6 separate regions of the Homo sapiens genome follow, and all the other regions are linked to region 1. The links are contacts of gene promoters, found by promoter capture Hi-C in blood cells and fetal thymus (Javierre and others, 2016). All regions are on one chromosome and are shown on one strand. The core of a region is centred on a gene start or on the middle of the fragment in contact, and the rest is flanking DNA. Distances in the headings are between cores, read along the strand shown. Region 1 holds the start of BRINP1 (BMP/retinoic acid inducible neural specific 1). Region 2 has its middle 78 kb from the start of TLR4. Region 3 has its middle 98 kb from the start of TLR4. Region 4 has its middle 78 kb from the start of ASTN2. Region 5 holds the start of TLR4 (toll like receptor 4). Region 6 has its middle 62 kb from the start of ASTN2.

Region 1 (4,158 bases), core at 67-2,566:
GGATCCATGCAAACTTGCCAGATCCTCCCCAAAACCAACAGAAGCCGGAGGGGCTCTGTTGATTGCAAACGGGGATGCAGGGTAAATCCCTATCCCAGACTTTCCAAGCCCCAGATAAGGAGCCCACCGCTGACTTCCCCCTTTCTCTGTCACCCACTATCCAGTGTCTCCAAATTCCCATCAGAATCTTGGAGTCTGCCCAGTGTAGAATTTAAAGTGACAGCGTCTCATTTGCCTCGGGGGTTGGCCATGTCTCTTTCATATTAAGCTGTGGGTCCCAGTGTAGCAGGATTCCACCGTTTGGAGGAATTTTCCTTCAAGCGTACCAACATTGGGCTAAATAAGGTGCCATCTACAGCCCCATAATCCTCCCCAAACCCCAAGCCCAGAGCCCCAAGAGGAAGTCCACAGCGGGTTTCCCGGTGACTACGTGATCCTATAGTAAGGGTCCCATTCCGTGTAAGCTGGAGAGACCTAATTAAAAAGACACACGAGGGCACACATACAAACACATACGTACAAACATGCACACACACATCGCGCCGTAAGTAGGTTATAGGACCTCTCTCTCTTCACCCCTCCCTTACACACACGGACACACACACACACCACGAACACACGCATCAAACGCAAACGACGCCGCACACGCAAACACACTAGCACCACATCAAGTTCCCACCATGGTGCACACGTCGGGAGCGCGCGGGGACACACACGCCACTCACTCAAACCCGCAATTAGCCCTTTGAGCCCCAGGCACAGGAACCCCCTCCCTAGAACTGGAGAAGACTTGGAGGCGGCGGGGCGGCCAGGTGAAGAGCGGACAAGGGTGCCGGTAGGGGGAGGGGCAGAGGAGCGCGGGGACGCCCCGAATGCGGCCCGGGGCCGGGTCCAAGGGCAGCGGGGCTGCGGGGCGCTGCACCCGGCGCCGCCTTACCTGGAGTCAATGTCCGTCTTTGGCGGAGAGCTGCGGGAGGACGCTTTTTATTCGGCTCGGTGGGAACTTGGGAGAGCCCTGCGTGCAGCTCGCATTCCGGGCACGGCGCGGGGACTGCAGGCGTGGGGGTACCTGGCTCCTAGCAGCCTGGCTCATACTCAGCCGTAAAGTCCCCTTCGCTGGTCCCGAGGACAGGCATGAATCCCGGCTCCGGAAGGCGGTCACTACTCCCTCTGCCTCCCGGCTCTCTCGCTCTCGCTCTCGCTGTTGCTCGCTCGCTCTCTCCCTCTCTCGCGGGTTCGCTCGCCTGCGCTCTCCTCCTCCCCGCGCGCCAGATCAGTTTGCAGCCGTGGGGTCCGGGAGCGAGGCGGCTGGCGAATGGAGAGGGAAGTCCAAGTGCGCCGCGGTCTCCGGGCGGGGAGCGGCGGAGGCCGGGCTACGCCGGGGGAGGGACTTAGCCGGCGACGGCCGAAAATGAATGGGGGAGCGGCGGCCGGGGGGCGGGGAGGGAGGAGCTGAACGCCGGGGTTGCTTCCGAGGAGTGTTTTGTACATCTTTAGGCGGAGGAGGAGGAGAAGCGAGAGGAGGAGAGACGGGAGGCCGCCTCGAGGGAAGGGCGGCCCGGGTGGGCTGGGGCTGAGCCGTAGGGAGTTTCGTGGGTCTGGGGCGTGTAGGGTGTTGTGTCTATGCGCACGAGCATCCAAAGGGACCGCGCATACGCGCAAACCCGGAATCCTGGTGCCCTTAAGCGTGACTGTACTGTGTGTGTCGCGAGTACCTGAGTGTTTCTGGGGCGGCAGGTGTTTCCACGGCCGCGTGGATCCATCGAGTGTGGGTTTTGTCTCGGGAGTTGCCCGTGTGGGTCCGTTTGTGTCTGCGCGTCTCTCTGTGAGTGTTTGACACTGTTTGTTTCTCTCGGTGTGTAGGCGAGAGCCCACGTAACCTCCCAGAATGAAGCAAGAGCTTCTCTACGTAGGCAGGATGTAGGAGGGAGAAGCTGAGGGGACACGAAGTTCTCTGGAGACCACCAGAGGCGGGGAAGGGGCGAGGGTACAGGGACTAAGACATGAAAATAAAAAGCAAAATACTCTGCAATCAGCCTGAATGCAGGCTGGGGCTGCTAACATAGGGCCTCTTCCTGAAGCAGAAAATAAAGCCCTCGTATGATAATTCCCACACAGCGCACATTTGGTATGTTTGTTTACTTTGCTTCCCTTCTGATTTAAACCAAATCAGCAATGCAGATCCCTAGTCCCCTGAAGATTAGGCAAGAATAGAAAGCATTAAGGCTACCAGATGGAGGGGCAGGAAGTCATAGGAAAAGGTGTTGGAATATGTAAAAGAGCCAGATTCAGTAGAAGTGCAGGCTCCAGAGAGGTTGGAGTCCTGTAGCTGTCTGGTCTTGGTGAAATCACTTACCCCTTAAGCCTCAATTCCTTGTCTGTTTAATAGAATAATAATATATCTACCCATCTAATAGGGTTGATGTGGAATTGTAATGAGTTAATATATGCAAAGGCACTTAGACTGCTCATGAGTTAATGTATGCAAAGGCACTTAGACTGCTCCCTGACACCTAGTGAGTGCTCAGTGCATGTTGTCTGCTTTTATGATTGCCATTGTATGTTTTTTGTTTGTTTTTTAATTCAAAGGATGATAAGAGAGAGATGTGACCACCAGGGAGGCCTAGAACAATCTAGGAGCCAGTGAACTAATTGGAGGAAGAGGAGTCTTGAAACAAAATGGAAGAGAAATGTTTGAGTGATGAACTGGGAACTCGGGAAAAATTATTTAATCGACAAAGAGAAAGGGAGAAAGAGAGGAGAAGACATCGAGCTAGCCAGAATGATCCTGGGTCTCAGAAGGTCAGGACTGAGGGGAGAGGAAAGGGAGAGGAGGAGCAGCCAGTGCAGAGCTTCTCAGCCTTCACTGGAATCCCAATGAGGAGGAGTCAGCACCACGGACAGCTCTCCAGCCACAAACCCAGTCAGCGATTTCTATTTTCGCCTGGTGGAAATTTCTCCCTTTTTTCTTGGGCAACTTTCTCTTTCCCTTGGCTTCTGGTCCAGGTTCAGGTCTTGAACACAGGTTCCCCAGGTCAGTTCTGACTTTGATTCTGACCACGAAGAAATACGCCCACCACACACACTCCTTCTCCCACCCACCGCGGTATGAAACCCCAGGTCACTATCTCTTGCCTCTCCTCCTTTCTTTCTTTTCTCTCTCTCTCTTTCTGTCTGTGCCCCATTCCTTCCTTTATTCGTCCCTATCTTTCTCTTTGTTTCCCCATCATCCCCCAGCTGAGATCTACTTCCATGACTGTTAGTAGGCAACAGCTGCCCTGCTGATAATGCAGTTCTGAAATCAATCTGAGACAACGTAGTCAGGCAACTTCAGGTGAAGACCAAAGTTCTGACTGATTCTTCTTAACCCTTTCCTTGTAATCAATCTCCCAAGATGGGTTGTGGTCTACATACCTTAGAAAGTGGGGACTTAATGCTTTGGAATACTGTCCAGTCTTTCTCTTCCTCACCCCACCCAGTCAATATTTCCCTAAAGAAAAAAAGAGCTCTTCTAGTTCCAACCAATACTACACAGAGAGAAAGAGGAGAGAGAATTTTGAACTTTTACCGTGCACCAAGCATTTTATTTGCAATGTTCTGAATATTATTGCTTACAGTTCTGAAAATACTTTGCAGTATGAATAGATAATACTATCCCATCTTTATGGCATAGGAAATTGAGTCTTGAAAAACTTGAGTATATGCCAAACTAGCTATATGCCAAAATATAGCTAGTAGGTGATGGAGTCAGGAATTCAACACCCAAGTCCAAGTCCAAAATCTTTATCCTCTGGGAATAATGGGGAAGCCCTGGGGTGATTGGAAGTTCTTGGAATTTTATGGGGTCACTGCACCCAACCCTAAATATCAACTTAGATGTCTGGATCCATTGCATTATCTGTGTCCCATCCCAATGGATGATTTAGTGTATCTTGTCCCTGGAGAAGGAGGTGAAGACTTTGCATGGACAGATTTAAGGCTCACTCGAGCCTTATGGTTTCTGAGTTTTGAATAAAATGCCAACCTTTCCAGGTCTTAGTTCATTTGCATTTGGCTCAGTTTAGCTTTCCTGTTTCTATGAAGAAAGGCTAAGAGGGCCATTTTAAAATGTCTCCGAAGACACCTTGGTCATCAGAAAAGTTCTCAGTGCAAAGCATT
Region 2 (4,770 bases), core at 2,105-4,604, 1.7 Mb before region 1:
TATAGTCTCATCTACTCAGGAGGGTAAGGTGGGAGGATCACTTGAATGCAGAAGGTCAAAGCAGCTGTAGACCTGTAGACAGCCATGATGACACCACTGCACTCAGCCTGGGCAACAGAATAAGATCCTGTCTCTCAAAAAAAAAAAAAAAAAAAAAAAAAAAAAAAGAAGACAATTCATTCCACAAGACCAGTATTACCCTGATACCAAAGCGTAACAAAGACATTACACACAAAAAAAGAGAGGCTAATATCCCTTAAGAATACAGATGCAAAATTCCTCGACAAAATATTAGCAAACTGAATCCAGGAGCACATAAAAAGGATTACAAAACAAGTGGTATTAATCCCAGGAATGCAAGGTTGGTTCAACCCCACACCATAATCTCAATAGATGCAGAAAAAATATTTGACAAATGCAACACTTTTTTATGATGAATACACTCAATAAACTAGGAGAGGTGAAAGGCCATCCACGAAATGCAAGTGAAACTTCCTTCACATGGAGGAAATGGGGAAGATACCTCCTCCCTAAAAATTAAAAAAATGTGTAAATTTGGTCAATCAGCTGGATATTCTGATGCCTACTGAGTAGGAATGGCAACTGTTATGACTGAGAAGAATGGAAGGAAAATTTTTGAAGCAGATCCGCATAGGTTGTGTGGCATAACAGAGTTATACAGATCTTGGATTGAAAAATGGCCTTATGGCTTATCAGCTGTATGATTTAGGGGCATCTTAAACTCTGTGAGATTCAGTTTGGTCACTGGTAAAATGAATATAATAATATTTCCCACAGTTATTACAGAATCAGGGTTAATATTTGTAAAGAGTCTAGTGCATGTCAGGCTCAGACTAAGAACTTTGTAATGGTAGTTTCACTATTGTCAATAGTTGTGGAGGGCAGGGTGGTAGGATGGGAGGGGTAGTCAAGTTGGCTAAAGGGACATCCACTTAAAAAACCTAGTGGGACAACAATTAAAAGAGAAGAAGGATCTCTCTGGCTTATTCTTATGGCAATTTTTGCAATCCTGGGTAAATCATAAATTTGATTCTGGCTTTCACTTTCCTCATCTGTAAAATGGAACAAGTGAGTTAAAAGATCTTTGGAATCTCTCTTATCTCTAAAATTCAGTGACTCCATGAAGTAGAAGATGGCACAGAATGGAGGTGGGAGAATGTCAAGTGCGACCTTTTCAGTATACTTGTAGAACGTGTTTGAATACAAGCTCCAGTTTGCTTCCACCAAAGCTAACAAGAAGAAAGAACATCAACACAATGACACACTTCTTTTTGGCTCTAAAAGGCTTCCAGATTGTGTCTAATTTTAAACCACTTTCTGGAGACCAAAGAGATGCCTGAGGACAGCTTGACAATAAATCTTTCAGCACACATAACTCTTCTCTTTGTCATTTCAGTATGAGGAACATGAGCATTTCAAGTGTCCTCCTCCAGAGTTGTCAATCTGGCACCTGTCACTGGCCTCTGATTATGAAAGTATTTAATTTTTCCAAGACAAATTGGCAGAATGTCCAAAGAGAGGGAAGAAATGACACAGGGGAGATGGAAAATGCTGATTTGTGGGGAAGGCTTCTGCATGGCTCAGAATCCAATAAACATTCTCAAAAGGAAGTCAAATCCAGTGGTTTCCTTCATATCAGTATCAGTAGCGTCACTGTGGACAAATTCAGTAATCATGTTAATAACCCATTGAATGTCCTAGCCTCACAGTGCTCTAAGATTGTCTCCTGTAAGGACCTGTATTTTCACAAATTCTCTGTAGGCTCCCACATTCAAAGTCACAGTTAAGAAATGGGTCACCTTATAGAAGTTTCAAGATTCTGCTTTCAAGATTTCAAACTCAGAAAGCCTTCTTTATAATCACAACCTTAAAAGAACTTTGATAGCTTCCCACACCTATAGGATGATGTTCAAACCCTTATACTCAGAGATCAATTGTCATTTGTCTTCAACCTATTTTCCCTGCATTGAGACATTTCCATCACTCTGAACTAATCATGACTCCTGGCTGTATGTTCACCTTGTTCCGGAATCTCTTGTCTTAATATCTCTACTTCAGAGTTTCTCAACCTTAAAAGTAATTGAATTTTGGGTAAGGTCATTCTTTGTTGTGGGAGTTGCTTATAGATGGTAAAACCTTTTGAAGCCTCCCTGGTCTCACTAGATACTAATAGCACACCTCAAATTGTGACAACAAAAAGTATCCCCTGGGAGGTAAAAATACTACTAATTCTTATTCATTCTATATAATTATATTTTTGTACCCACTGGATGACACAGTCAATAATAATTAATTGTACATTTTAAAATAACTAAAAGAGTATAATTGAAACATTTGTAATACAAAGAACGGATAAATGCTTGAGGTGATGGATACCTCCTTTACTCTGATGTGATTATTATACATTGTATGCTTGTATCAAAAGATCCCATGTACCTCATGAACATAGGCACCCATATGTACCCATAAAAGTCTTTTAAAAATGCCCCTGATTGAGAGCCACTGCTTTACCTGAAAAACTTCTAATCCGCCTTTAACTCAATTCAAATGTCACTTCTTCTGTAGAGTCTTTTCCAACTTCTTTAGGAAAACCAATACATTTCCATTCGTGACTTTATTATAATTATGGTCAGGAATATTACATTGTAGTTATTTGTAGTTTATCTTCTCAACCAGACTGAGCTTTACTCGGAGAAGAGCTTTGTCATATTCTTAATCGTATTCTCATCCCTCACTATAGTTTCTGGAGCTGTAACCATGGCTGGTGATCAAGCTCTGTTAATTTATCAGATATTTTTATCATTCCTATGAATTAGAAAGATCAAATATTATTTATTATTTTCAGAATGTGGATAATGTTTCCTTTAGGCAGATGCACTTCCAATTGTAAGTAATAGGAATATAGCTCAAACTGGCCTGGGGAAAGCAATATATATAAAATGGCTCATGTACTTAGAAAAAAAATCCAGATTTGGACTTCAGGCATAGCTGAATCCAGATGAATAGATCCTGAGTAGGGAACACATAATAACTGCAGATTAGAAGTAAACTAATCTGCAGTAAACTTGTACATTAGGTAAAGAAACTGTACTGTAGTAAACTAGTACAGAAGGTAAAAAAATTTCAGTGAACTAACCTAAACCACAGAGTCAGGCCAAGGGTTGAGAATGGGAGTAAATGATAACATGGATTTTATTCATTTGCTTAAGCGTTGATTCTCCTAATGTTTCTGTAAGTAGAGACAATGATTTATTTGAGATAAGAACTCAAGTGATGGGCATGGATCCACACTATTTTTTTTTACATAGCATAGAAGTGTACTCATGGTTCATTGACTAACATAACCAGAGCAAGTGATATGCTTCCCAGGTCAAAGGAAACTAAAACTGAAGGATATTATAGTTCTAGCTACATCAGTTCCCAGGAATAACTTAATTTAGGCAATAAATCTGCCATTCCTTGACCCATGTCACCCAAACTTAATGTCTGGGTTTTGGGGCTTGAACTATTTTCTGTGCCATCAGCAAGTCATTACCCCTTTAACTTTGCCTGCATGGTAGGCCTAAGAATTTTTAATGTATGCTCTCTTAGCATCTGTTATTGTTGCTGTTGTTGATTTTTGAGTGGAAGTCTAGCCACAGTTCACACAACAGAATATCTGGTACTTGAAACTAGCTCCTTTGACACATAAGTAATATGTTTTCTTTATCAGTATAGTATGAATCAAAAGCTGATAAACTTCATGACAAAAGAATACCACAGATTGGGCAGGTAGGTGAATTTTCTTAGACACAGATCAACCAGGGATCTTCACAAGATCTAAGAGGGGTTGCAATTTGGAGATACCATTGCAGGCAGCTTTTGTTCAAAAGAAGACTTTCCTTAAAGCCACAAGGTACAAATCTCTGAGCTGAAATAACATGTAGAGTAGAAAGCACCAGACTAGCAGGGCGACAACCTGGACTTTATCTACTTTGGTGAGACCTTGTTCAAGTCACAGAATTACAGAATATCAACTAGAAGGAAATTTAACCATAAGTTGCAAGCCTCTTATTTTTGATGGTGTGGGTGTTGGTTCACAGAGACAAAGGGGCTAAGTCAAAACTGTAGATTGGTAAAATCAGGATTAAAACCAAGATCTGTTAACTCTGCAGTTGCCTACTAATATCTCCTTTGATGTCCATAATGTTCCCGTTATACAGATATTATTATTTTCTCTGTTTAAGAATAAAATCATCTGTATCCAAAGAGACTTCACCTTGGGGTCCTTAAGTAAATATAAGGATTGAAATTACATCCCTGGAACTAGTGTTTCAATTATAAGCTCAGAATGATTTTTAACACTATCTGTGAAATAATGTGCTGAAAACTAAGGGGTCTTCCTGTTTTATTACTGCTAACCATTGCCTCTGCCACATAAACCCTTCCTTGGAAACCATAGCATGTGCCATAGTGAGCTTACTTGAAAGTAGTCTCCTAAGAGAGTCAAAACAGCTGCATCCTGAAGAAATAGCCTTTTGAGAAGGCAAAGAACAATCAAATAATAAGGAGATGGTATGAATTCACTGGTGTGCTTACTCCTTTAGTTGCATTATTATAGTATGATTAGACATACTTTGATTAGACTTTGTCTTACTTTACAAATGAAAGAAAAAAACAGACTCAGAAACCTAGCATGATCAGATCAAGCTCACCCAGTGATTAAGTAGAGATGCAAATCTTATGTGATGCCCAATCTGCCCCTCACCA
Region 3 (4,364 bases), core at 1,731-4,230, 1.8 Mb before region 1:
ACGTGGATAAAACAGGGAATGAAGTACACCTGAGATTCAGGCCAGGTAGTGGGAGTGGAAGAAGGCCAAGGCAAGACAGGAAGGCTGAGAAACTATAAGCAGGTTTCATTTGGGAAGCCAGGCAGCTAAGGAAGCTAACTGATGAATGGGCTCAGGAGTCTAGGTAAGAGGACCAGAGATAATGAGCCCAGTGGGTGAAAAGCCAGAGACTCAGAGAGCTGACACATCAACCAATATATGTTGGGTTAACTTAAATAACCACTAACATTATGAATAAATTACTTTATAAGGGTGGTGCTTAAATTCTGGATATCATGAATGTCCTCGAGACTTGGATAAAAGCTGAGGGCTCATTTATCAAAAAAAAAAAAAAAAAAAAAAACAAACCCATATGCTTTTGCATACAGTTACAGAGGTTGAGAAATTTCTCTGAAGGCTAAGTAAACCTACTTTACGTAGCTTGGATATCTCATGTGTGCGTTGAAGTTTTTATCATCCATTAATACATTGAATCCTTGCAAATCTATGAAACTGGTAACAATTATTTCTATGTTAAAAAAACAGAGCCTCAGTGAGAAGGTATTCCTTACCCAGGTAAGAAGTAAGTGGCTATATATTTAGAGATAGAAGTCATGTATTTTGATTTCAAGTTCAGTGTTATTTTCTTCCACCTTACCTCTACGCAAACAAGCTGTACTTACATTTCTGCATAAATCAGAAAGCACTTTTACAAATATTGATTGAGTATCTGTTATGTGTCAAGCACTGTGGTAGGCACTTGGGAACAGACAAATATCCCTGCCCTTGTAGAGCTCCAGATCCAAGTTCAGGTCCGTTCCTCTCAGTCTGATAACTTGAATCGAAAAATGTTCTTGTTATAAAGTGTCTATTCAGGTATTCAGTTCTTAATGAAAACATGTGATTGAGTAAGTATCATCCTAGGTACTAGTTGTCAAAGACAGAATTGTATCAACTAATATTAAACATTCCTCATCCTTTGTCACTAACTAATCGAGGACTTCATTCATTTTCATTTCTTTCTTTCTTTATTATTTTCCTTCTACTTTAAAATCTAAAGCTTGAAGACCCTCTGTTTTCACATATTACCAACAAAAATAAGGCCCAAATAAAACATCTAACTTATAGTTGTTCAGGAGAAAACTAATAAAAACCAGACTGAGAGCTGGGAGGCCAGCCCCCTCACACCAGCTCTGTCATTTATGGTGTTCTTGTATTTTCCCTGGGTCTCAATTTCTTCCTCTGTAAAGCAAACTGTATATTTCTGTGCCCATTCTCTATCCTAACATGCTAAGATGCAATGAATTCCTGCAAGCGTTGAACGTGCCTGAGAGAAAACCTTTATAACTGCATGGTGGTTAGACATCGATGATGAGAGGAAAGTCACCCCTTCAATGAGTAGCTACCCTCTCTGGCTCTACAAGTTGAACAATTCTTAGATGAGTGGGAGTGTAGGAGGCAGGAAGGGCGAGAGGCAGGAAGAAAGCTCAGTTTCTCATCAGGAAAGGAGCAGTACAGATCATCGGGTTGAAGCAGTGAGCACAGAATGTCTGGCCATTTCTCTTCTGAAAAGGTCAGTGCCCCGCCAAACCAGGGCTGCAACATAGTGGCCTTTTAAAAAGCAGACAGCCAGAGAAGCTGCCACTGAGTTCATAAGTGTGGGGAAATGGATTCTTGTTATGTCAGAGCAGAAAGGGACTCAACTGCATCTAGTCCAATTCTGCCCTTCTATTTTACATGCAGGGACACTGAGGTATGGGGGTGGGGTTGGGAGAGGTGACCAAAGTCACAGAGCTTGCAGTCAGCATAGTTGTGACTAGAGTTTAGCATTCCAGAACATGCAAGGAATTCCTATTTTTGCTTAAATGAAAGCAAAATTCCCTATTGTTCTGTATATTGCCTCATTTAATAAAGTCTTTATTTTTTCCTCCATTTTTACTTGCTTGGTATCTCAGAATAAATAAAATGTGCTAACAATAGCTATCCATTTTTGACAGAGATGAGGGACCAAAATTGAAGGTGTGACTCATTAAACCTCTAGGCATGTTTTTAGAGTTATTTTGTAAATGATTAAATATTTATGAGAGTTGACAAAATTATATTTTGTTCTAATTTTTAATTTAAATATACTCTTCTCCATTCATGTCTTCTTTGCTGTCCACCTAGTCAAAGTTATCTCCTTAATGAAAATATTAAAAACCTCCCTCTTTGCTATAGCTAAAATACCTCATTTGATCCTCACAATAGTTATTGGCCACCACCCTATACAATGCCTCCTGGATTGATTTATAGTCCACTTCCCTCTCTGCTTGACAAACCCACCTCTGTTTATTAAAACAGTGTTATTGGTGAAAGCAATCCAGGCAGACCCACTTGCCTTTGTGCTTTGAGAACAAAGTGACACTTGGCAAATCATTAAACCTCCCTGTGCTCAGTTGGATCTTCTGAAAAATGGAGAGAGAGATAATCCCTTTTAGATTATTGAATGGTTAAATAAAAATAATACTCAATGTTTCTCTGCCTACTCTGCATAAAAAAAGCACTTCGCATATCTTATTTCATTCACTTATAATCATTCTTGTTATTACCTCCATGTTACAGCTGAGGACATAGAATGAGAGAAATCTCAAAATGGACGAGGTGATGTAGAATTTGAACACTCAAGCCTGTCTCGCTCATAGAACCACACCTTTCTAAGAACACCACATGGATTACTATGTAGCACTGATTCTTTTTTTTTAAATTATTATTATACTTTAAGTTTTAGGGTACATGTGCACAATGTGCAGGTTAGTTACATATGTATACATGTGCCATGCTGGTGTGCTGCACCCATTAACTCGTCATTTAGCTTTAGGTATATCTCCTAATGCTATCCCTCCCCCCTCCCCCCACTCCACAACAGTCACCAGAGTGTGATGTTCCCCTTCCTGTGTCCATGTGTTCTCATTGTTCAATTCCCATCTATGAGTGAGAACATGCGGTGTTTGGTTTTTTTTGTCCCTGCGATAGTTTACTGAGAATGATGATTTCCAATTTCATCCATGTCCCTACAAAGGACATGAACTCATCATTTTTTATGGTTGCATAGTATTCCATGGTGTATATGTGCCACATTTTCTTAATCCAGTCTATCATTGTTGGACATTTGGGTTGGCTCCAAGTCTTTGCTATTGTGAATAGTGCCGCAATAAACATACGTGTGCATGTGTCTTTATAGCAGCATGATTTATAGTCCTTTGGGTATATACCCAGTAATGGGATGGCTGGGTCAAATGGTATTTCTAGTTCTAGATCCCTGAGGAATCACCACACTGACTTCCACAATGGTTGAACTAGTTTACAGCCCCACCAACAGTGTAAAAGTGTTTCTATTTCTCCACATCCTCTCTAGCACCTGTTGTTTCCTGACTTTTTAATGATCACCATTCTAACTGGTGTGAGATGGTATCTCATTGTGGTTTTGATTTGCATTTCTCTGATGGCCAGTGTAGCACTGATTCTTAATCAGTGTGATTTTTTTAACCCCAGAAGGCATCTGGCAATGTCTAGAGACAATTTTAACTGTCACAACTTGAGATGGGCAGTGCTGGCTTCTATTAGGTAAAGACCAACGATCCCGAAAAGCATCCTATACTGTGCCAGGCAGTGCCCTCAAACAAAGAATTTCATGGCCCCAAATACCAATAATACCAAGGTTGAGAAACCCTGCTGTGTTTACTCCATTTTGTAAATTTAAGCATAATTCATTCTTGTAGATGGACATGATAGGGTGCATGCAAAGGGTTAAACACTCCATAAGCGTTGGCTATCATTATTACTACTGCTACCTCTAGACCCACTTCATATTTTGCCTTCTCTGATTTGGGGCCATCCCAGATACATGCTAGTTGGAAATATTTCTCTCATCTCTTTCAATAACCCTTAGCTTTTCCTACATTTGACACATTATTTATTATAGTTATTTATACACATCCTTTGCCTTTTTCAATACACTGACAGTTTCCTAAGGCAAACAGTTGTGTTTATTTTCTTTTGTATCTTCCCATGTACTAGTACAGTGCCTGTCCTGTCTTGATTGAATCTGATGAACTGAACAACCTTATGAGGAAAGGTGGGCAGAGATTATTATGTTTGTTAAATAGAGGAAACAGACTCAGAGTGCCCAAGTTGTTTAAAGCCCCATGACTTACAAATGATGAAGTTTGTACTAGATCTCACCTTGGAGTTCAGTACTAGCTTGTTTAGCTGCTGCTTATGTAACCAATTGCCAACCACCAGACTGTAACCCATTACTTTAGAGAGAAATTTCAAGAAGAAAAACTGACATGGAAGTTTGTTTCAAT
Region 4 (4,344 bases), core at 710-3,209, 1.9 Mb before region 1:
CGTTTACCCTATCTGATGTTTGATAGAGAAAGTCTAATAGACATGCTAACTATCCATTCATCTCCAGTTTTTACCTGAAAGGCAATACCTGAGTCACATTATCTAAGTCCATAGCAGAAATGCTTTCCCTGAGCTACGACTTAATATTTTTCTCTTTGCCTTTATAGAGGGTTGATAGAAAAACTGCCCAGTAGAAAAAAGCATGTATTTTTTAGAAACTGCGAATAAAGATTACTTCCACTATTTAATGCAATGGACCTCAAATTCTCTATATATGTGATACAATCTTAAAATTAAATAATGGGTTGTACCATGAAGCTAAGTAAGGAGTGTGTGATCTATGTTCTACCGTGATGTCCATGCCCAAATAAAAATATATGGCAGAATCAATGACTGATGTGGGCTATGTCTGACATAAATAAAACAGAGAGACTTAGGACCTGGGAACAGGCCTGGGTCACAAGGTATTTGTTGGACAGAATGAGAACTCAGAGGTCACTAATGCTTATTTGCCTGTTTACCTTACTTATCACCAGGTATCAAGGGCGGGAGTCCAAAGAGCATTCTACAATAGCCGTCTGCAAACTGTGGCCTATGAGCTGGCTGCCTGTATTATAAACACAATGGGACATTACTGGAACACGGCTATAAATTCATTTGTTTATGTATTGTTTGTGGCTGTTTTCACACTTCAATGACAGAGTTGAGTAGGTGCTATAGTGATCTTATGGCCTGCAAACCTCAAATATTTGCTATTTGGCCCTTTAAGTTTAACCTCAGCATCATGCAATATACCATGTAACAAACCTGCATGTGTACTCTCGAATCCAAAATAAAAGTTGGAAAGATAAGTTTGTCATTTCCGTATTGAGCCAGAGTTAAAAGACTTTAGTTAGAATCAAAGTTTGTTTGTGTTTAATAGTCTCTGTACCATCTGAGACTCAGTACCTTCAGCTGTAAAGCAGGATTCATAGTTTTGTCTATATTATAGGTTTTTGCAAGAATAAGAAAATATATGTATAAATGACTAGCATGGTGCCATAAAGAGCCACCATGCTACTTTCAAGTGAAGCCTTAGGGACCAGGACAAATGACATTTACTCCAGGTCCGGATACAGATAGGACCTCTTCCAAACAAAAGCCAGTGTTTCACTTTCTTAGCAGGAATGCCACCCCGAGAAAAATTTTCTCCAAAAGCCATGGCTTAGAGGAAGATGACTTTCCTGCCAGGGAGAAAAGGGTACCAACCGTGCTTTCCCTGTCAGCCTCCTTATTGCACAGGAACTAGACAGAGATAATCTCAGGTAAGAAAGGCACAATGCATTTCTCCCAGGGCCTCATATGTCAGGCATGATTTTAATTTCAGATAACTTCCAAACCAGATAAGAATTCTGTTGGTAGTGTGAGCAGATCTCCTGGTGCTGCCTGTATCCATGGCCAGCACCCTCCTTCCCCTACTCCAGCTCTTAACTAGGGGGGAACTCAGTGAGATGTAATTGTATGCAACCCTGCCTTCCCCTCTTGCCCTCTGACACTGGATTCACTAATGAGCATCACCCCTTGTGACCCACGTTTTCTCTAGTCTCTGAGTTAGGCCATTGTTCTTCATCCCTATGAGCAACTGATGGCAGGGATTGGTTCCCCATTGTATCCCCAGTGCCTAGTACAAGTATGTCCAACCCACTTAAACTGTTCAAATGAACCCGGGCCATCCATTGACACAAATGCAGAGGACAGAACCACAGCATTCGGTATATTTCAGAGACCCAGTAAATTCAATTCAAATTGAATTGAATTAAATTGGGTTTGGCTCTTTCTGGGGTGGTGGTGGTGATGATGATGATGATAGCAGAAGTGGTGGTGGTGGAATGATGGCAGCTACAATGAAGAGATCAGGGCAAGGTTTGGAAAAAATTAAAATATTTTAAGCCAGGAGTTGGGTAAATGCTCGGAGTCTATCCTGCTGCTTGTATACCTGGATGGCTCTTCACTGAGGTGACTGTATACACAAGGGAAATGATACATACGGGAGACAAAGCTCTTCTTTATTAATAATTTAACCAACACCCAATAACCTGTAATGATGAATTTTGGTAAAAGCCTACTTGGAATATGAGGCTTAGACATCTAAGCTGGTCTACTTAATCCTTTTCTGTAAATGAAAAGAGGCTGCATCTGCAAAGTAGGTTGTAACCTGAGTTACTCAGTTGTAGGCACAAGTGAAACGATCTAGGTATACAGACTTGCTTATCTTTCTCCAAGGAGGCAAAATGTACCCAGATATGCTTACCCCATAAGAGCAGGAAGTAACCCTGCCCACTGGTGAACATGGCAAATTCAATCTCTTGGAGGAACGACCAATCAAACTAGCTGCTAAAGGGACGGGCGAAAATAGAAGCATAAGATGTAGTAGAAATTTTTCTTTAAGATTTATCATGCTAGAATTATTAGCTAAGCATTTACAATCATATTTTTTCTTTAATCCTTACAACAATCCTAGGAGATAAAATTATTCTCCAGGTGAGGAGTTAGGCTCAGAGTAATTAAGTGACTTGCCTGAGGTTACACAATAAATGGTTGAGCTAGATTTTCAATCCCATGTCTACCTGACTTCAAATCAATGTCCCTTCTACTACACGCTTGCTATTCAAAATGCAATTCATGGACCAGCTGCTCAACCTCACCTGAAAGCATTTTAGGAGTGCAAGTGCCTGAGGCCCACCCCAAACTTACTGAATCAGGATCTGCATTTCAACGATAGCTGCAGGTGAATTGTCAATATATGGAAGTTAGAGGAGCACTCTGATACACAACACTGCCTAGCTCTTACTACTCTCTTTTCCCAGAGAGCAAAACCACTCACTGTGGTCCCACCATCAGTAGAAGGCTGACCTGGATTTGGGAACATCCCCAAGTGGCTAAATTAATGCTACCTGCTGGGATGGTACCCTAAGGCCTGCTAAACCATGTCTGAGCTTTCTGAGGCCACTGGGCACTTTGCATTGACTGGTCAGTTGTCCTTACTGAAGCCAATGTCCCCAAGCCTTAACTTCCTTTACTGTTGTTTAATCTGAGGCCATGAAATCTTAGCAGATGTGGGGCAGTTTCTGTCCAAATATGTCAATGTGTGGCCACCCTTGGCCATCTGAGGAGTAAATAATTTGTTATATTTATCCTTGAGGAAGAATGTACTGAAATGTATATAGAATTCTATGGAAATGAAGTTCCAGGATAACCTAAAAAGAAAGATTATTGTGAATTTAGGGACATTTATTTTCCTTTTTCAGTTTTGATATAGTTTTCTTATGTCTGTATGTAATTTCCTATGGCAGATTAAGATCCATAATGTTCCAAGATACTGTGATTCATGCATAAGAGAGATTTGAAATGAAATTTTATTGTTGACACTTACTGCTCAGGCACTTGATATTCTCTCACTATATCTTCAAAACAAGACTATGAGGATAGGAGAATTAGCTCCATTTTATAAATGAAGACAGTAAGCTCTGTCTCTGGTCACACAAACAAAGCCAGTTTTCAAGTGTATGCTGGCACCATTTCCAAGCTACATTTGTTTGAATTGCATGTTATTGGTAAAGGATGCTTAGAAATAAATAAGACACAGGATCCTAAAATGACCATTCCACTTGGAGATTTGAGGTGGGGGAAATTAATTTAACATTAAAGCCTTTAAAAGGAAACATGGTTATATGAAGGAGTAGAAAGCCAATGCTGAAATTTTGAATGAATTTAAGACAAACAGAAGGCACAACAAAAACATGGAGATTATGGATGGTTAACTCTGCATTTGTGTCCTGAAGCCCCGGGGATTTGCTTTCACTTTTACTGTTATTACAGTAGCAACAGCAGATGCAGCAGGAGCAACAGTAGGAACTGTGCTGAAAGCTACTGTGTTACTTATCTATTGCTGCATAACAAATCACCCGAAATTCAGTGGCTTAAAACAATACATATTTATTATTTCACTGTTTCTGTGGGTCATGAATCAGGACGTGAATCCTATATTTGGCAAAACTGTCCTTTAAAAACTGAGGGAGAAATTAAAACATTCCCAGATAAAAGCAAAACTGAGGGAGCTTGTGACCACTAGCCTGTCTCACAAGAAATGCTCACGAGAGTCCTGCAGGTTGAAACAAAACAACACTAAACAGTAACTTGAAGCCATATTCGGAAATAAAGATTCTAATAAAGGTAAATGAAGCTAGTATTATTGCAACAATGGCTTGTAACTTTACTTTTTATTTTCTACATGATTGAAGAGACCAATACCTTAAAAAAAGTTACTGGTCTAAAAACTAGTATGATTGTAGCTTTGGTTTGGAA
Region 5 (4,184 bases), core at 137-2,636, 1.7 Mb before region 1:
ATCCAAAAGAATTGAAAACAGAGACTTTAAGAGATATTTGTACAACCATGTTTATGGCAGCATTATTCACAATAGCTAACGTGTGGCAACAATGCAAGTGTCCATGAACAGACAAATGGATAAGCAAAATGTGGTCTATACATACAATGGAATATTGTTCAGCTTTAAAAAGGAAGGAGGCTTTGATCTATACTACACAGAAAAGAACCTTGAGGACATTATGCAAAGTGAAATAAGCCAGTGACAAAAAGATACATACTGTATGATTCCACTTCTAAGAGCTGCCTAGAGTAGTCAAGATTATAGAGACAAAAGTAGTGCATAGATTCAAGGGCCTAGGGAAAGGGGAAATGGGGAGTTATTTATTAATGAATAGTGGTGATGATTGTACAAAAATATGAACATAATTAATGCCACTAAATTGTACACATACAAATGGTCAAGATAATAAATTTTATGTTATGTCATGTTATGTTATGTGATTTTACCATAATACAGAAAATGAAAAAAGAAAAGAAAGAAAGTAAAGCTTAGCGGTTTACATGACTTGACCAATGCCTCAAAGCCATGAGTCACCCAGCTGAGATCTGAACTTCAGTATATTCCATTCTGAAATCCCAGACTTTTCCCAATCTTCTTGTACTTTTCAAACTGTGTTTCAGTTGAGGTTTATTTTCAGTTTTGTATGTGAGTTTCTTCACAAGAAGGGGCGGGCCAAATTGTGTCCTGCAAAAACCTACATATCGAAGTCCTAACCCCTCTACCTCAGACTATGACTGTATATGGAGAGAGAGCCTTGAAAGAGGTATGTAAGGTAGAATGAGGTCATTATGGTGGGCCCTAATCCAACATAACTGGTGTCCTTATAAGAAGGGGAGATTAGAATTCAGACACACTTGCTGACACCTTGAGTTCAGACTGGAAGCCTCTAGAATTGTGAGAAAATGAATGTCTGTTGTTTAAGCCACCCAGTCTGTGGTATTTCCTTATGGCAGCCCCAGCAAACTAATACAAATAGTGTTTCCACAGCTGAAACAAAATTGGAAAATCACCGTCATCCTAGAGAGTTACAAGGGCTATTTTAATAGAACCTGATTGTTTTCCTAAATTCACCAAGCCCAGGCAGAGGTCAGATGACTAATTGGGATAAAAGCCAACTAGCTTCCTCTTGCTGTTTCTTTAGCCACTGGTCTGCAGGCGTTTTCTTCTTCTAACTTCCTCTCCTGTGACAAAAGAGATAACTATTAGAGAAACAAAAGTCCAGAATGCTAAGGTTGCCGCTTTCACTTCCTCTCACCCTTTAGCCCAGAACTGCTTTGAATACACCAATTGCTGTGGGGCGGCTCGAGGAAGAGAAGACACCAGTGCCTCAGAAACTGCTCGGTCAGACGGTGATAGCGAGCCACGCATTCACAGGGCCACTGCTGCTCACAGAAGCAGTGAGGATGATGCCAGGATGATGTCTGCCTCGCGCCTGGCTGGGACTCTGATCCCAGCCATGGCCTTCCTCTCCTGCGTGAGACCAGAAAGCTGGGAGCCCTGCGTGGAGGTATGTGGCTGGAGTCAGCTCCTCTGAACTTTCCCTCACTTCTGCCCAGAACTTCTCACTGTGTGCCCTGGTTTGTTTATTTTTGCAAAAAAAAAAAAGAGTTAAATTACCTTAAAGACTCAAGAAGCCACAGAGATCAAATAATTCATTGTTACAGGGCACTAGAGGCAGCCATTGGGGGTTTGTTCCATTTGGAAATTTTGAGTGCTAACAGGGGCATGAGATAACATAGATCTGCTTAAGGTCCCTGCTCTGCTACCTTGTGGCTCTGTGAAGAAATTATCAAACCTGTCTGAGACTAGTTTTCGCATCTGTAAGAGAATTATAATACCTTCTTCACTAGAGAGTAAGCAGACTGCTTCAGTGTCATTTCTTCCCACTGGTGGTCTTTACACTCAGCTTCAAGCAGTCACCCTGCTCCTTTCAATCTCAGGAAAAAGATGGCTTTTGTGTGTGTGTCTCTAGAGAAAGAACTTTCTAAGTGGGTGTCAGACTTCTGTATGCAGTAATATAGTTTAGTCCAGAGGATGAAAAAAATAAGAGAATGAAAAAGGAAAAGAGAGAGAGAGAGAAGAAAAAAGCAAGAGGGAAATATGTATAATGTCAGCTAATGCAACAGTTTCTTTCTTAGTGAAATACCAATCAGCTGGTTGGTAATCTTATTCATGATGGATCTCTTTTGTTTTTCCCCTGCGCAGACTTCACAGTTGCTTTAGAAACCCATAGTAGAGCCGAACAGCTAAGAAAATGATTTACAGTGAGGCAGGGTCAGAAACTCAAGAGAGAAAAAGCCAGCTGCAGTCCTGAAGTTGAGGATATAGGAGAAAATCAAGTAATATTTAGCAAAGACTAATTCATTATCTTGAAGCCATCCCTTCCCTCAATTCCCTGCCCATAGTCCTCCTCCTTGTCCTCTTCTCTGTATCCCTCTGCTGTTAGGTTAATGGAGATAGATTTTCTAATTAGGCTCACTGCGAGATAAAACCACAGCCAAACTTGACTTCTTTTCCCCATGTACCTTTTCCTGTCAGTCCCTGAAGCCTGTCCATCCCTGCCCATCCCCTTAGTTCCACTGTAAGGCAGGCCCTCATTTCCCCTGGCATTGACTCTTACACACTAACTGCTTTCCTGATTCCAGTCTTCTTCCTTTAATTCATTCTGCACGTTCTTGTTTGTTATGTACTTGCATTTGTTGTTATTATTTTTCCTTAGGCTTCAATCTAACAAATTACTCTCCTTAAAAACTTTTAATAACTCTCCATTGCCATTAGAACAGCTTTCTACCACAGGGCCTTTGCACTGGCTATTTCTTCTACCTAGAATGCTAGATCAGTGCTATCCATTGGCAATATTATGTGAGCCACATATGTACTTTTAAAGTTTTTAGTAGCCTCATTAAAAAAAGAAACAAGTGAATTTAATTTCGATAATAGTTTTATTTAACTTAGCGTATTTAAAATAATGTTTAAAATTTTAATATATATTTACCTATTATTGATATTTTTACATTCCTTGTTTGGTACTAAGTCTGGAATTTAGTATATGTTTTACATTTACCACACTTCTCAATTTACACTATTCACATTTCTTGTGTTTGATAACTGTGTATGGCTAGTGACTACCGTATTGGTCAGTGCAGCCCAAGTCCTTTTCATGCTTTAATCACTCCATTCAGATCTCTGATTAAATGTCCCCTCCTCAGGGCAGTCTTCCTTGATTGCCCCATGTAGAGCTCTCCAGCCTCACTTATTTGCCTCAAATCCCCTTATACTGCTTAATATTTTTTTTTCTAGAGCACAACATTTTATATTTTTGTTTGTTTATTTTCTCTCTCTCCCTTTGTAATGGAATCGGTAAGGAGGCAGGATCATTGCTGGTTTTATTTACCACTATATTTCCAGTGGCCAGCACACAGTAGCCGCTAGATGTGTAAGTGATAAATGATTGAAATAATTGCTGCAGGACAAAGTCTGAGGCCCTCCTGATCTGGCTTGCCCTCTTACTTAGATTTCACCACTCCCACCACTCACCAGCTAATCTGAGTTTGTTTTCCACTCTTTACGTGCTCACGTTGTCCTCTCCTTAGGACATGTTTTTCTTCCCCTTTCCACATATCTAAACCTTACTCATCTTCCAAGACCCACTTTAAAATCTTCCTTTTCTGGGAAGCCTTTCCTGAATCCAGACTTGATCTCTGCTTTCTCTGAACCACAGGGCATATTTTCTAAGCCTATTTTATGGCCCCTTGAGATAGTGTTAGCTTTGCTCCTATCTAAACTCTTACTCTAGACTGTGAGTCCATTGAAGTCTGGAGCTGCATCATATTTTTCTTTGTAATGCCCACAGCACTTGGCAGGAAATGCCTACAATTTGGACTTAAGTAAACCTTCATTTAATCAGTTATTCAATCAGTTAGTGATTCAGCAAATATTTATTGAGCACCAACCATTTGCCAGACACCATTCTGAGTGCTGGAGACAAAGCAGTGGGCAAACCCATCAAACTTGCAATGGAATACAGGAGATGAACAATACGATGAGAACAATCAGATAGACAACATAATGTTAGATGGTTGTGCTTCCCGTGAAAGGGAATAAAAGAGGGCAAAGAAAGAGTGCCTGGCACTGTTTCTATT
Region 6 (4,401 bases), core at 506-3,005, 1.9 Mb before region 1:
CCTCAAGTGATCTGCCCACCTCAGCCTCCCAAAGTGCTAGGAATACAGGCATGAACCACCGTGCCCAGCCTGAAAACATACTTTGAATGAGTTCGGCATAATGGGAACAAGGCCTCCCAACTTGTCGAGAGAGGGTTCTCTCTCACACAAGTGGTGGTGTCTCTTTGGCCTTGTTTGTACCTGAACACTATTTGTAGTGAAGCTTCTTCCAGTGCCTCTGCCTGGAAGGTGCTTCCACTTTGGCTTCTGCCCTGAAACCTCTTCTATATGCTTCTGGTTTGGAGGACAGAATCTATGTGCTAAGGTCCCTAAAGGTATGCCTTCTTTCCTCTCTGGCATTTGTAAACATTTTTCCTTAATACATTCAATATTAGATACATTATTCTCAAAATGTGGACTCTACTGAAAGGCCAAGTGGTTGAAGTTTTCAGAGGCCTTGCAATGGTCTGCAACACAGAGAGCCCTACGACTGGCAGTCAGAAGACCTCGCATTTTACTCCTGGCTCTGCCAGGGGAATTTATGTTCATTGAACAATTCCTTATCTACTGAGAAGATAGAAATGCAGTAACAGAAGTGCTTGCAAGAATGAAGCATGGAATGAAGAGCTCAGAGCAGGCACTTGATCCATCCTGGAGTAAAGGATTGCAGACAGTGAAGACTTCCTGGAAGAGGTGTGATGAAGCTGAAAATGGAAAGTCAAAGTTAGCAGGTGAACAGGTAGAGGAATGGCATTCGGTAGAGGGAACAGCGTGTTGAAAGACACAGACTGGCAGTGAAAAGGCCTGGTGCATTCAGTAACCAAACATCATTGGGTGTGGCTGGAGCATAGGGAATCTCAAAATATGGTGAGGCTGGAGCATGAAGAATCTTGTATTTTAGGTAGAGGAGTGTGCCTTTCTTTTAACATCAATGAGGAGTCATCAGAGAGCATCAATTCATCGGGGAATAGGAAAGGTGAATACCAAAAAGGCCACTCTGTCGGCCTTTTAACTGCAGAAAAGAATTCTGCAGTTTGAAGGGCAGATTGCAAGGGGCAGGACAGACTGAAACTAGCCAGGACTAGTGCATACATAATACCAGTAGAGGACAGATGAGGCCTAATTTAATGAAGGAGTGGGAAAGAAGATGAAGTAAGAATTTCAGGGTACAACTTGCTTCTTGGGGTTCATTTGTAAAATGTAGGTGTCCCTGTGGTCTAGACCCTCCATCTTTTCACTACTAAGTCTTCCTTCTGTGACTTTTCTCTCCATAGATTCCCAGTATTTCAAGAGGTTATGTCTACCAACTTACATTTATTTGAGGATAATTAGTTTTCCAATAAGTACCAATTTTAGTTGATATAATTCCCACCAAAAGCAATTAAAGTCTGATTTTATTGGGGAGATATATGATTCCCGTTAGCATTTTTGAAATATTGAAAAGAGTTCATGGACTGCCATTATGCCTTCTGGACTCTTCTTGCCAGAGTGGGTGAAGCAGAGAGTTTGGAAACCACTCGATCTATTTATCCATAATAAGATTCACCTCTGATATTTGAAGTCTAGGAAATAACTCTCTTCAATAAGGACTGTGTAAGTTGCAAATCACAGTATGCAAATCATTAGTGTGAGGGACTGTTATAACTCATGATTATGAAAATTCTCCCAAAATAATAGACCTCAAACGCGTGATGTGGTAAGATGGGAGCTACTATCATTTAACATACGAGAAACTGGAGGCTCAAAGAGGTTGAACATTTGGTTTGAAAACAGCAAATAAGCAGAAATCGCAGCAACTGCTTTCCCTGCTTGACTTCCTTGGGCACCTGCTGATTTTAAAGAATGTTTGAAGTCATGATCTCCCCACCTTCCAACCTTCCCATTTAGCAGAAAATGATTCATTCCTTGGTGTAAGGGAGGAAGGAATCAAATACTGAGGCTAATAAGAGACACAAAGGGGCCACGTGTGGTGGCTCACGCCCATAATTCCAGCACTTTGGTAGACCGAGGCGAGTGGATCACCTGAGGTCAGGAGTTTGAGACCAGCCTGGCCAACATGGCGAAACCCCATCTCCACTAAAAATACAAAAATTTGCTGGGCGTGGTGGTGCACATCTGTAATCCCAGTTACTCAGGAGACTGAGGCAGGAGAATCACTTGAACCCAGCAAATAGAGGTTGCAGTGAGTCTAGATGGCACCACTGCACTCCACCCTGGGTGACAGAGCGAGACTCAGTCTCCAAGAAAAAAAAAATAAAAGACGCAAAGGGAGCAAAGGGCATTGTGGGAATTTATCAGTGGAATTAACCTCAGGGGTGGGGAATAGAGGAGATTGCCTGCACCCAATCCCAGGGTAAGTGAGGAGTTGGGAGATGCTGCAGAGCAAGATCATGCATGGTTAGGGAAGGAGTTTCGACATCATTCAATTCAGCACCCTTGGGGGTGGAGACTGAAGACACGATTACAAAACCAGTAAGTGGCTGGGGTGAAATTAAAGCCCTCTACAAATCTGAAGTGCTTATGGAAGGAATAAATGGATTCTGACCTTAAATATCAAGGTGTACTTACCTACAACTTGTTTGAAATGGAAAAAGCACATTGTAGGCTAATAGATTTAATATGATTCTATTTATATATTAAAGAAATAGCAACTATGCCCCAGTTCCCTTCCCTGTCATTTTGGGTAGAAATAAAACCTGTCTAATAGCATTGCTGTAGAGATTAAGTGAGTTAATACACATAAATTTTTAGAACCGTGCTTGGCATATAGTATTATGAAAATGTGTGTTCTCATATTTATTACTATACTTGTTAATACACCTGTGACTGCATAGGATAGATATGATGGTTTATACAGCTAAGAGTAAACAGTGGCTATTTGTCCGAAGAAGTGGAATAGAGAGATTTATAAAGGTCCTTTTGGCCATAATCATTTGTATATTTTATTTTCTATGCTCATAGTGTTAATTTTTTATTTCTTTTTAGTGAGACAATATTCATGTACTACATAGTAAAAAAAATTGGGCTAAGACTTTGATCATATAACAAATACTTCTGAAAATGCAAAACAAACAAATGATATATTTTCACTTATTGTTTACCTATCTGTTCTTCAGCCCACTTGTACCTATTTGCCTATTTTGTTCTAGGCACTGTTCAAGCACTAGAGATACAGCAATGAACAAAACAGACAAGCCACCCTTGCTTTCCTGTGAAAGGTGTAGACACGGGAATAAACAAGGAGAATATTTACTATATTAGTTGGAGGTTGGTTCTGTGGGGAAAATAAAGCCAGAAGGGAAACAGGAAGGACAAAAGGAAGTAGTGTTTGAAGCTTAAATCAGATGGACAGGAAAGGCCTTGCTGAAAGGAGCCATCTGAGTAAAGAAGTGAAGAGAGGCAGGGAGCTACACAATTATTCAGAAGAGCATTCTATGCATTATTTCATTTAATCCTCTCAATAATCTAACTATAACCCTGGGAGATAAGTATTATTAGTGTCCTCATGTGCAGATGGGGAAATTGAAAGACTCAACTTAGTGTTTTCCTAATGCAATAGTGGCTCTCTTTCTCCTATACCTATCTTCTAAAAACGACTTGTCACTGAGTGTAGGGCAGCTTCAGGCAGCTCAAAGGCTGCTCAAAAGCTGTGAGTCTGGGGAATGAGTCTTCTAGCACCCCTCTTGAACTACCCTGCAATGTTAGAAAGTGTCACAGCATTTCTCCTTCATCCTCCCTCTGCTTCCCTCCTCCTTTTCCTTTCCTGAGCTTAGGTGGGACACAAAGATGCAAGCAGAACACTGCAACCATTGCAAACCTTCACACCAGCCTCCCTCACTAACTTTGGCTCATCCAATGTTCTTCTAACACACCGAGAAAAGAGTGGGTAACAGTGTGGAGATGTGACAAGTACATAGAATTTGGAGACAAAAGACCAGGCATCTTGCCTTCTGCATGAACATGGCCAACCCTCTCTGAATCTTGATTTCCAAAAATTAAAAAGGACTCACAGGTTTATGTTGCAGATCAAATTAGAAGCAAAGATAACTTACTAACAATAATGCACTATATAGATATTTAGATAATAGTAGATGGGCTAATACATGTTCTATTTGTAGAAGTTTAAACTGAAGCTTTAGGTCTGAACAAAAAAGATAAGCAAGAATGATGGAAATATGATCTCATTTAGGGATCCAAGTGCCCAGACTATAGGGCTACCATTTTGTTTTCTGAAACAAAATCCAATGATGTATGTAGAGAGAGAGAGAACAATAAATATTTTGTTTTTTAACTTTGAGGCAAAACTCAATAAATGTGGTTGTACATGGTTCCATGCCCGCTCCACTTTCCTCATCTAGGGAAGCACCTGTTATCATTGGAATTATTTTATAGCACTAGTCTTCTCTCATTTAATCGTGTACA

Evidence for each region. The method cuts DNA at HindIII sites, captures the fragments that hold promoters and counts their contacts. A CHiCAGO score of 5 or more calls a contact.
Region 2: a contact is called between a fragment that was not itself captured here and the fragment with the promoter of BRINP1 in region 1, in 4 of 17 cell types (M2 macrophages, M1 macrophages, erythroblasts and 1 more). The highest score is 11.4, in M2 macrophages.
Region 3: a fragment that was not itself captured here is called in contact with the fragment with the promoter of BRINP1 in region 1 in 4 of 17 cell types (total B cells, M1 macrophages, M2 macrophages and 1 more); the score reaches 8.2 in total B cells.
Region 4: a fragment that was not itself captured here is called in contact with the fragment with the promoter of BRINP1 in region 1 in 4 of 17 cell types (M2 macrophages, M0 macrophages, M1 macrophages and 1 more); the score reaches 15.9 in M2 macrophages.
Region 5: the fragment with the promoter of TLR4 here is called in contact with the fragment with the promoter of BRINP1 in region 1 in 4 of 17 cell types (M1 macrophages, M2 macrophages, endothelial precursors and 1 more); the score reaches 11.3 in M1 macrophages.
Region 6: a contact is called between a fragment that was not itself captured here and the fragment with the promoter of BRINP1 in region 1, in 3 of 17 cell types (M1 macrophages, M2 macrophages and M0 macrophages). The highest score is 7.0, in M1 macrophages.

Annotation. Positions count from the first base shown.
Region 1 is chr9:119,368,119-119,372,276 of GRCh38, forward strand. It overlaps BRINP1 (BMP/retinoic acid inducible neural specific 1), which reads right to left and starts at 1,317. Exons shown (of 8, transcript NM_014618.3): 1 at 938-1,317. RefSeq lists enhancers at 716-1,237, 1,238-1,760, 1,761-2,281. The HindIII fragment of the contact is 7,485 bases long and covers 1-4,158 here.
Region 2 is chr9:117,623,957-117,628,726 of GRCh38, forward strand. No RefSeq gene overlaps it. Among named protein-coding and RNA genes, the nearest start is that of TLR4, 78 kb to the right of the region's middle. The HindIII fragment of the contact is 7,902 bases long and covers 1-4,770 here.
Region 3 is chr9:117,604,177-117,608,540 of GRCh38, forward strand. No RefSeq gene overlaps it. Among named protein-coding and RNA genes, the nearest start is that of TLR4, 98 kb to the right of the region's middle. The HindIII fragment of the contact is 3,809 bases long and covers 1,077-4,364 here.
Region 4 is chr9:117,491,062-117,495,405 of GRCh38, forward strand. No RefSeq gene overlaps it. Among named protein-coding and RNA genes, the nearest start is that of ASTN2, 78 kb to the left of the region's middle. The HindIII fragment of the contact is 5,715 bases long and covers 1-4,344 here.
Region 5 is chr9:117,703,017-117,707,200 of GRCh38, forward strand. TLR4 (toll like receptor 4) reads left to right here and starts at 1,387. Exons shown (of 3, transcript NM_138554.5): 1 at 1,387-1,549. The coding sequence starts at 1,457. RefSeq lists enhancers at 809-2,008, 956-1,456, 1,357-1,406, 1,417-1,486, 1,457-1,957 and 1 more. The HindIII fragment of the contact is 5,259 bases long and covers 528-4,184 here.
Region 6 is chr9:117,475,014-117,479,414 of GRCh38, forward strand. No RefSeq gene overlaps it. Among named protein-coding and RNA genes, the nearest start is that of ASTN2, 62 kb to the left of the region's middle. The HindIII fragment of the contact is 3,111 bases long and covers 201-3,311 here.